2 separate regions of the Homo sapiens genome follow, and region 1 is linked to region 2. Evidence: promoter capture Hi-C in 16 types of primary human blood cells and fetal thymus (Javierre and others, 2016). All regions are on one chromosome and are shown on one strand. Each heading gives the region's core, a stretch centred on a gene start or on the middle of the fragment in contact. The rest is flanking DNA. Distances are from core to core; before and after follow the strand shown. Region 1 overlaps MAX (MYC associated factor X). Region 2 holds the start of PLEK2 (pleckstrin 2).

Evidence for each region. Contacts are between HindIII fragments. The CHiCAGO score rates a contact against its expected background, and 5 or more counts as called.
Region 1: a fragment that was not itself captured here is called in contact with the fragment with the promoter of PLEK2 in region 2 in 1 of 17 cell types (M0 macrophages); the score reaches 5.5 in M0 macrophages.

Annotation. Positions count from the first base shown.
Region 1 is chr14:65,096,069-65,100,384 of GRCh38, forward strand. The region is part of intron 2 of MAX (MYC associated factor X); the gene reads right to left. Among named protein-coding and RNA genes, the nearest start is that of MAX, 4.3 kb to the right of the region's middle. The HindIII fragment of the contact is 1,125 bases long and covers 1,557-2,681 here.
Region 2 is chr14:67,410,011-67,414,136 of GRCh38, forward strand. PLEK2 (pleckstrin 2) reads right to left here and starts at 2,155. Exons shown (of 9, transcript NM_016445.3): 1 at 2,008-2,155. The coding sequence starts at 2,049. It also overlaps a transcript of GPHN not described here. The HindIII fragment of the contact is 5,074 bases long and covers 1-4,126 here.

The DNA.
Region 1 (4,316 bases), core at 869-3,368, 2.3 Mb before region 2:
GGCTTCTCATCTGGGGAGCCAGCCAAGTTTGAGAAGTTGGCTCAACAAGGAAAGGCAGCAGTCCACTGCCTGGTAGAAAGCCTGGGCTGGGGACTGTTGTTCTCAAAGTAGTGGATGGAATTTCTGTAGTGGTTCCAGGCCCAATTTAACTAGCAGAAGAGTGGAATCTTACACCAATCCCTGCTGCCATGTCCATCCCTGAGCTACTAGTGGAGTCAATTTTAAATCTCTCAGAGACAATGGCAAGGATGTATTTTTCTCTTCCCCAAGCTTGATTTGAAAGAACAAGTTAAAAACATGCAGAACTAACAAGCCTAATTCCAGGCAACTGTGAATTAAATGTTATCACTAATGTTTTGAAAGAGCACATGAAAAACAGAAAAACCTTTACACAAGGCTGAGAATTCTCTGTGGGAAACATTTCCAAACCACAGATCCACCCAGACCAATAACACTGCCCGCGCCTCATCCCCACCCCCATTGGAGGACTAGTTTGCAGGCTTTATCACTGCCTTGTTAACTGTCTTTGCTTGCTGGCAACCCTTTTTGAGAGGGCCAAGATTTCAGAGTTGAAGAAGAAAAACTGGGTGAAGACTCCCAGTGTAAGGCATCTAATATCCTCCCCCAAATGCAAAACTGGTTTTAAAAAACAAGCCCAAACAATTGTCTTGAACAAATAAAACTCTACTCAGATGAGCCTGTACTGAGAATGATGTTCAGTAATGAAAACAAATGGTACGGAAAACCCCCTTGTGGAATTAATTAGGCCCTATTCTAGGAGACCACAGAGGTATTCTTGGACTGTACAGCAGGCTCCCAAACATCTCCCCTACACATCCTATGGTTACAGTGGCTGGATGCTGCCCACTCTTCTAGTACGCTGGATTTGTACGTCTGGATGTCTGCCAGAAAACCCTTCCTCCAGGGCATCCCTAACAGAAATACTAAGGGGCTATGCAGTGGTCCACAGATGCTCAACAGAAACTCCCGCACCAAATCACTTCCAGCTTTGACATCTCTGCCAAAGTTTTTATTCAGCCTCTCAGTTATATTTCTACCCAACTTTCCACACTGGTAGACAGAATAAAAATCTTCACCTACAATTTGTCCATCTTTGACACTACCAAGCACGTGTATCTTAAGTGTTGTTAGATGTTGAAGACAAACATTATTTTGTTAGCCAAGAAGTTGCTATGTTGGCAAGAAGTCATCTAGGCTAAGGAGGTCTGTTCAAAATTGAGGGAAATCTCTTAAAATTATTTCCTTCCAACTTACTGCAGAGAGACTGCATCTTTGTTCAAGGCATCACATCAGTCAGTAATCTTATTTCCTCCAAGTTCTAGGCAAATAGCACGGGGAAATAAATGCTTCATTATTCCAGGATGCACAAGGTTCTCCAGAACAATGCCATGTCTTACAGGCTACCTGACAGCTAACCCCACCTATAAGGGGAACCATCTCAATTCTAATACAGAAAATTCTCAGCATATAGGGAATTAGTTGCCCACTCAATATTTACTACCTTTACAAAATGTGAAGGTTGTATTTTAGAGGGAAGCTTGTGTTGCTTATGATTCTTATCAAGCTATTCTTATTAGAGACTAAGGACACGAGAATACACAGACCCAAAAATCTCATCCGAAAAGATCTATTTCTTACTTCTGATAGATAAGAACAAGATAGGATAAAGCTCAATTTCTAAGCAACTTAAAATATTCATTTTAATCAACCCAAAAATTATAACATAAAATAATAGGCAGGTAGGATGGGATAAACTCACCAAGCTCCCTAAGAGAAAGACATGGATTTCAATTTTCCAATACCTGTCCTGCTTGTAGCTGATTGCCTGGTATACATTTCCAACATTATCTAATGTATGTATTTGTTTTCAAACTTTTTTCTTTTGGTGCCTAAAATAACTGGCAAATGCTATAATCCAAACAGGGCCTCATACTATAGCCATTTCAGAGAAGGATGCCTTGGTCAGGAAATTTTAATTAAAAACCAAGCTGAATTCTTTGACCAACTATTTCACCGTTACTGGCATCTTGGAAAAATTCTTTTAGACATAAGAACAACTTTTACCCTAACACAGGCACATTTAGGAACTAACTCTGGCATTTGTTATCACTGTAAGCATCACTGTCAACACTCTAAGCAGAGAAAAAGTACATGCATTGTGCAGCACTTTTGCCATGCAACTGACTGCAGGTAAAACAGACAGTAGTTTCCTGAGTGAATTCCAATCTCGGAGGCTACCAAGCTCGTTCTCTTCTGAATATTCCTAAAGAAGCAAAGAGCTCTGAGAAGTTAAAAATATTTCATGCCAGAAAGGTCCAGAAGTGGAATTGCACAAATCTGTTTTCAAACCCCTCACAAGTATACTGCAACTGCAACTCAGTCAGGTGCCATCAAGGATGGTCACTGGAAAAAAAATTGCATTTCCTGACCAACACACTAACCCATACATTTCCTGTATACTTACACTCTTTCCTAAAGAAATTTCCCAAACAGAAATAAAGCAAAAGGAAGCCCTTGCAATATAATATACCTGTCCCACAAATTTATCTTTAAAATGCAACCTCTTCCCTCCAAAATATAATAAAAATAACATCAGTGGGATTTTGCGATGTACTGAATTTAGTAGTAAGAATACTCTTTGGGGTTACTTCCTTTAACAAAGCTTACTGGCCATTGGAGAAGCTGTTTTCCGTTTGTACTGAAGCAATAGAAAAAAATATTTGCCAAATCAGTTTCACTTTCTGTTAGAGTTAGCCTAACTTCCTAACTCTCTTCTCAGTATCTTACATTTCTCATGTAGTAAGGCCTATATATTGTAGTGACATTATAAAACATACATGAATGTTTTTATATTAGGATCCACAGAACCCTTTTCAAATAACTTTTTCAACATCTTCTGTAGTCCTGAATACCTAAGTATTTGGTTGTTCACAGTCCACATCTTTTTTTAAACCTTTTTTCTAAGGCAAAACTTAAGAATAGCTCCCTCTTAAATTTTAAAAAATATATTTATTATCCATATTAAATATTGAGAAGTAAGCAGATGCATTCACAGAGGGGAAAAAATGGAATCCTTTTTACCCTACACAGTCACAATAGTTGTTTGATATACTATAAAATTTGTTTATAACATATCTGCTTTTTCTCTCCATGCTGTTGTAATTACATTGTGCAGAGTAATATTTAGAAATATCAACAAATAGATGTGTTAAATTAAAAACAAAGTGTCAAACCAACTTCCTTTGCCTACCCCCAAAATCAAAAGGAAAAATCCTAGGCACCTTAACAGCAAACTAAAAACATCTAGACAAAACAATGAGATTAGCATTCCAGGAAAGCAGAAACATTATAATAATTTAATAACAAATTTATATCAACGATCATATGGATGAAAATTTTGAAAAGCAGAAAGCTTTCAAGAACTGCGAGCCAAAATTTCACCAAAAAAACAAACAAACAAACAAACAAACAAAAAAAACACAACTTTCTCTTACTGGGAAGTCAGTATAATTTCAATTCAAAGGATAATTCTGCAAAGGAAGGCTAAACGATCCTTACCCTCCAGCTCTGATCAAGCCCTAGCACAGATTTTACAACTGGAGACTTGCAGGGAAAAAAAAAGTTTTCAACAGACTAGGCCCCAAACATGAAGGATAAAAGTAAATGTGAAAAAGGAATTCAATTTTCAAATATATGCATAAGTATATGAGAATACTTCAAGGATAAATAAAATAAAACAAATTATCTTTAATGACTATTACCCAGGGATAATTTTTAAGACTTTTGGAACAACTACATCCCCGGATTTTATGGAAATATCAGCTCTCAATAAATAAGTTTTCTTAATGCCTATCTGCTTAGACAACCTGCACAATCTTTGCTTGCTCTAATGAAGAGCAGGTATAACTGAGATGGCTTGCCTTTACCCTGTGGTTATCAAGTTCTTATACCAGAGGTATCAAAGTGACATCCTGCAAATTCTAACAAGCCCCCAAACAGTTGTTCCACACATCATTTTAAAAATCAGAAAAATAACATAAAGTTTTAGATTTCTAATCTTTCTTAAAAAATAGGAAGATCGGCTGGGCGTGGTGGCTCATGCCTGTAATCCCAGCACTTTGGGAGGCCGAGGCTGGCAGATCACGAGGTTAAGAGATCGAGACCAGCCTGGCCAACATGGTGAAACCCCGTCTCTACTAAAAATACAAAAATTAGCTGGGTGTGGTGGCACGCGCCTGTAGTCCCAGCTATTCGGGAGGCTGAGGCAAGAGAATCGCTTGAACCCAGGAGGCGGA
Region 2 (4,126 bases), core at 905-3,404:
GGGTCTGGCTGGAATGAGCTCTAGGTATTTCAGCCAAGCCCCGTCTTTTCCAAGGGCTTACGGGGACCAGATCTGTTGACTCTCCTCATTTTCTGCACCCTGGATTCCCTAACCAGGCCACCCAGAAGAGAAGTCCCATCCTCCTGGTGATATCCTGGGAGCTCTGTGGCTCTGCCCTTAGCCCTCCTCTGACTCTCAGCATGGTGGGGGTGATAGGGAATGATGGAAGGTAACCCCCAGGAACAGGAGAAGGCCTCCAAAACTCCCAAAGCTCTATCAGAAGGATCTGTCTCCATGTTAACTTCATCCCTCCACAGGCTCTACCAGGGCCCAGCTATATCAACAGTGCCAACAAAAAGCCCCGTGCCCAGCTCTCACTCTCCCTCCCACCTCCCAAGCCGCAGTTAAATGTGAGATTAGGAGCTCCCCATGTGTAGTCTGAGGTGCAGCCACCTCCACATGCTGCGAGAAACCGGCCTATCAGTTCAGCCACAGTGGCAAGTGGGCGTGGCGCTTTGTACTGCTCTATCCAGTCTGACCCTTGATCTGGCATCAGCTTCTACCCTCCTTGCTTACTGTTTACAGCAAACAGCCACCGCTCTCCTGTACCAAATAACGTGCAACATCATGTGGACACATTTTGTGGGGAAAATGAAAGTGATGTGAGACTTTAGGGCTGATCCAGCCACCCCGGGAGGCAATGAAAGGAAGGGCCCCTCATCCCTCTTCATTCCCCTCCCAAAGCTGAAAACTCAGTAGAAGAACCAGAAAGCTCAGCCCTGGATTTATATGTCTCTTTGCTATGCCATCATAGCAGTATAAATGGTTAGTGTTAATGTCATTGTTCAAATTACGCTCTGTGTGGTGGCTCACGCCTGTTATCCCAGCACCTTGGGAGGCTAAGGTGGGCAGATGACTTAAACCCGGGAGTTCAAGACCTGCCTGGGAAACATGGCGAAACCCTGTCTCCACAAAAAAATACAAAAATTAGCTGGGCATAGTAGTGGATACCTGTAGTCCCAGCTACTAGGGAAGCTGAGGTGAGAGGACCACCTGAGCCTGGGAAGTCGAGGCTGTGGTGAGCCAGGATTGTGCCACTGCACTCCAGCCTGGGTGACCCTGTCTCAAAAAAAAAAAAAAAAAAAAAAGGTCAAATCAGGAAAAAATTTTGAAATAACAAACTTCCTTTTGCAGCTGCTCTTTTGTTCATCTTCTACCATAATCCCAGGCACTGAGTTTTTGTTTGCACTCGTTTGCCCTGGGCCACCTGGGGTGGTGGGGAAGGACTGAGGAGGGGAGGTCAGAACATGCAGTTCCTGTCCCAGCTATTACTGGCTCTGGAGCTCTGGGCAAGCTACTTCATCTTTCTGGTCCTCAGTTTCCCCGTCTGTAATAGAGTGATGTCAGTACCCACCGTGTATGGCACTGGGGAGGCAGTAAAGGTTTGGGTCAACCTGAGTGGGTCTGATCCCGATCCTGGCTCCACCACCCACTGCCTTCACCGCCCCGAGCAAGTTCCCTAACTCCTCTGGGCTTCGTTTTCCCCCTTGATGAAAGCAGGGCTGCTGGGAGGATGACATGAGACAATATCCAGGGCTGGCCAACAGTAAGTGCTTAAGACACATAGTAGCATTCCTCCTTCACAGGTTGTAAATTACAGAGCACGCCTATATTATCTTAGTAAATATTATTTAAATATCATACCATTCATAATATTTTAACAAGTTTTAATTAAGACACACGCTTCAGTACCCCTGCCCCGACTCCATACTGCGCTAACCAAGTGGGATTCTCCTCCTTGCCTGTGCGCTGAGCCACCGCTTACCCCGCGTCCCCTCGGACATGCAGCTCTGCCCATCAGGGCCACAGGCGGCCCGGTCCCACCATGGGGGTTGGGGATGGGAACCAGAGCATGCCCGTTCCGGGGCGCGCGTCTGGCCCCGCTCTAGGGAGCCGCGTCGGCGGGGCCCCACCCGGGCAATGTCCCGAAGCTCGACGCGCACTCACCCTCTTGACCAGGAAGCCCTCCTTGAGCACGCCGTCCTCCATGTCGCCGCCCGCACGCCAGGGCCACCCCAGGTGCGCCTTCCCCGCGCCTCGCGCTCCTCGGCACCCGCGCAGCCCGCGCAGTCCGCGCCCACGGCGCCCAGGAAGCAGCTCCGACGCGGCAGGGCGACGCCTCCCTGGCGCGTGTCCAGAGCCTGAGGCCCCGGGGCAGGAAGTCAGACCAAGTCGGGATTTCTGACGTGACGTTTCCACCCAAAGGTGCTCCAGGGTCGGTGGTTGGTCCTCCAGGTACAGAGCGGCCAACCCCGCCCCATCCAGGTGCGCCCCGCGCCCCTCACTGTTCCAGTCTCTCTGCTCAGCGTCCTTCGCCAGGTGCTTCCCGGGCACTTAGCGCATTGCCCTCGAGGAACGCTTATCGAATTGAACATAACCGACAGGACTCCAGGATTTGGAGCCATTCCTGAGCTCATTGCAAGTAGGAGATGGGACAGTGGGTGAGCCGAAACTGGTATGGGAATTTTATCCTGGCCTCTGATGGGGGCAGAGAAGACCTCTCAGTAACAGGAAGGTCACAGTTTTAAGGCGGCAGGCACAGTTTGCAGGGCCCCCTGTCCGCAGGATATACCCCGCTCCCTCAAAAAAGATGAAGCCGAAAATTCCATCATTAAGGACAAAATTTAAGGGGGCACCAAGGAGTCCAGTAACCTAGACAAATTATATATAGAGAGAGATGATTGGTTTTTTGGGGTTTTTTGTTTGTTTTTTGAGACAGGGTCTTTCTCTGTCACCCAGGCTGGAGTGCAGTGGTGTGATCATAGCTCACTGCAGCCTTAAACTCTGGGCTTAAGATCCTCCTGCCTCAGCTCCCCAAGTAGCTAGGACTACAGGAGTGCACCACCATGCCTGGCTGGTTTATTTTTATTTTTCGTAGAGATAGGGTGTTGCTATGTTGCCCAGGCTGGTCTTGATTCCTGGCCTCAAGCAATCCTCCGGCCTGGGCTTCCCAAAGTGCTGGGATTACAGGCAAGAGCCACCGTGTAAGACCTAGAAAAATAATATTTTAATGCATTTTTTAAAATCAAAATTAATGTCAAAAAATCCACGATGAACAAAATGCTAACATTTTAAATAGATAGGATCAACAACAATGTTCTATCAGGCCATATTGGAGCCTGGAACAGAAGGAAACTCAGTCAAATAGTACTGATTCTGTCTAACAATCCTTAGAACACAGTCACACATTTTTTTAAAATTTATTTTTATTTATAGAGACAGGGTCTCACTATATTGTCCAGACTGGTCTCGAACTCCTGGGCTCAAGCAGTCCTCCTGCCTCAGCCTCCCAAAGTGCTGGGATTGTGGGCATGAGTCATGGGGCCGGTCCATATTATTTGTGCTCCAGTTTGAAGGGCCCTGTCAGGACTCTTCACCAGGCATGGGAAAGGCCCTCAGATGCCTGTAAGGGAAGAGAAGGCTCTAGAGAGGAAGAAGGTGAACCAGCTTGTGGAAGGCGGGGGGTGCCTTTCAGAACCAGACTGAAGCCAGCTCCCAGGCCAGTCCCTGCCCTGGAGCTCTTGACACAGTGTTGCTTCTACATGTCTGTAGTAGACATATTACATCCCCCCAACCCCACTCCCACCTGCCAGCCCCAAGGAAAACTCGCAGGGTCTGGGTCACTGCGTGCCAGCCCAATGGCCCACTCTAGCCTTCTGCACTAACTGGCCTTCAGACTTCCCAGGAAGCCCCAAAGCAGTGGGGCTTCCATTCCAATTCAGAATGAACATCAGCTGGTCACCTTCTGAAGCCAGGCCTGTAGTAGTAGGTGCTAGGTTTTATCTAAAGTACAACAACCCCATGAGGTGTTTATTATGTCATTTTCCAGTCAAGGAAACTGAATCCAAGTAGTTAAATAACTTGCCCAAGGTTATGCAGCTCCAGGGCATTGCAAATACTCTTGCCTCCTAAGGAATTGTCCCAGCTCTGAAACCTAGCTGGGCTGAAAGCCAGGACTTGAGAGGTTGAGCTGGGAAGTTCTCATCCTCTTCGGCTCTAACTGTGGTCTATCCATCTCCTTCCTCAAAGAGGCTGTCTTGGCCCCACCCAGACACAATCTTCTGAG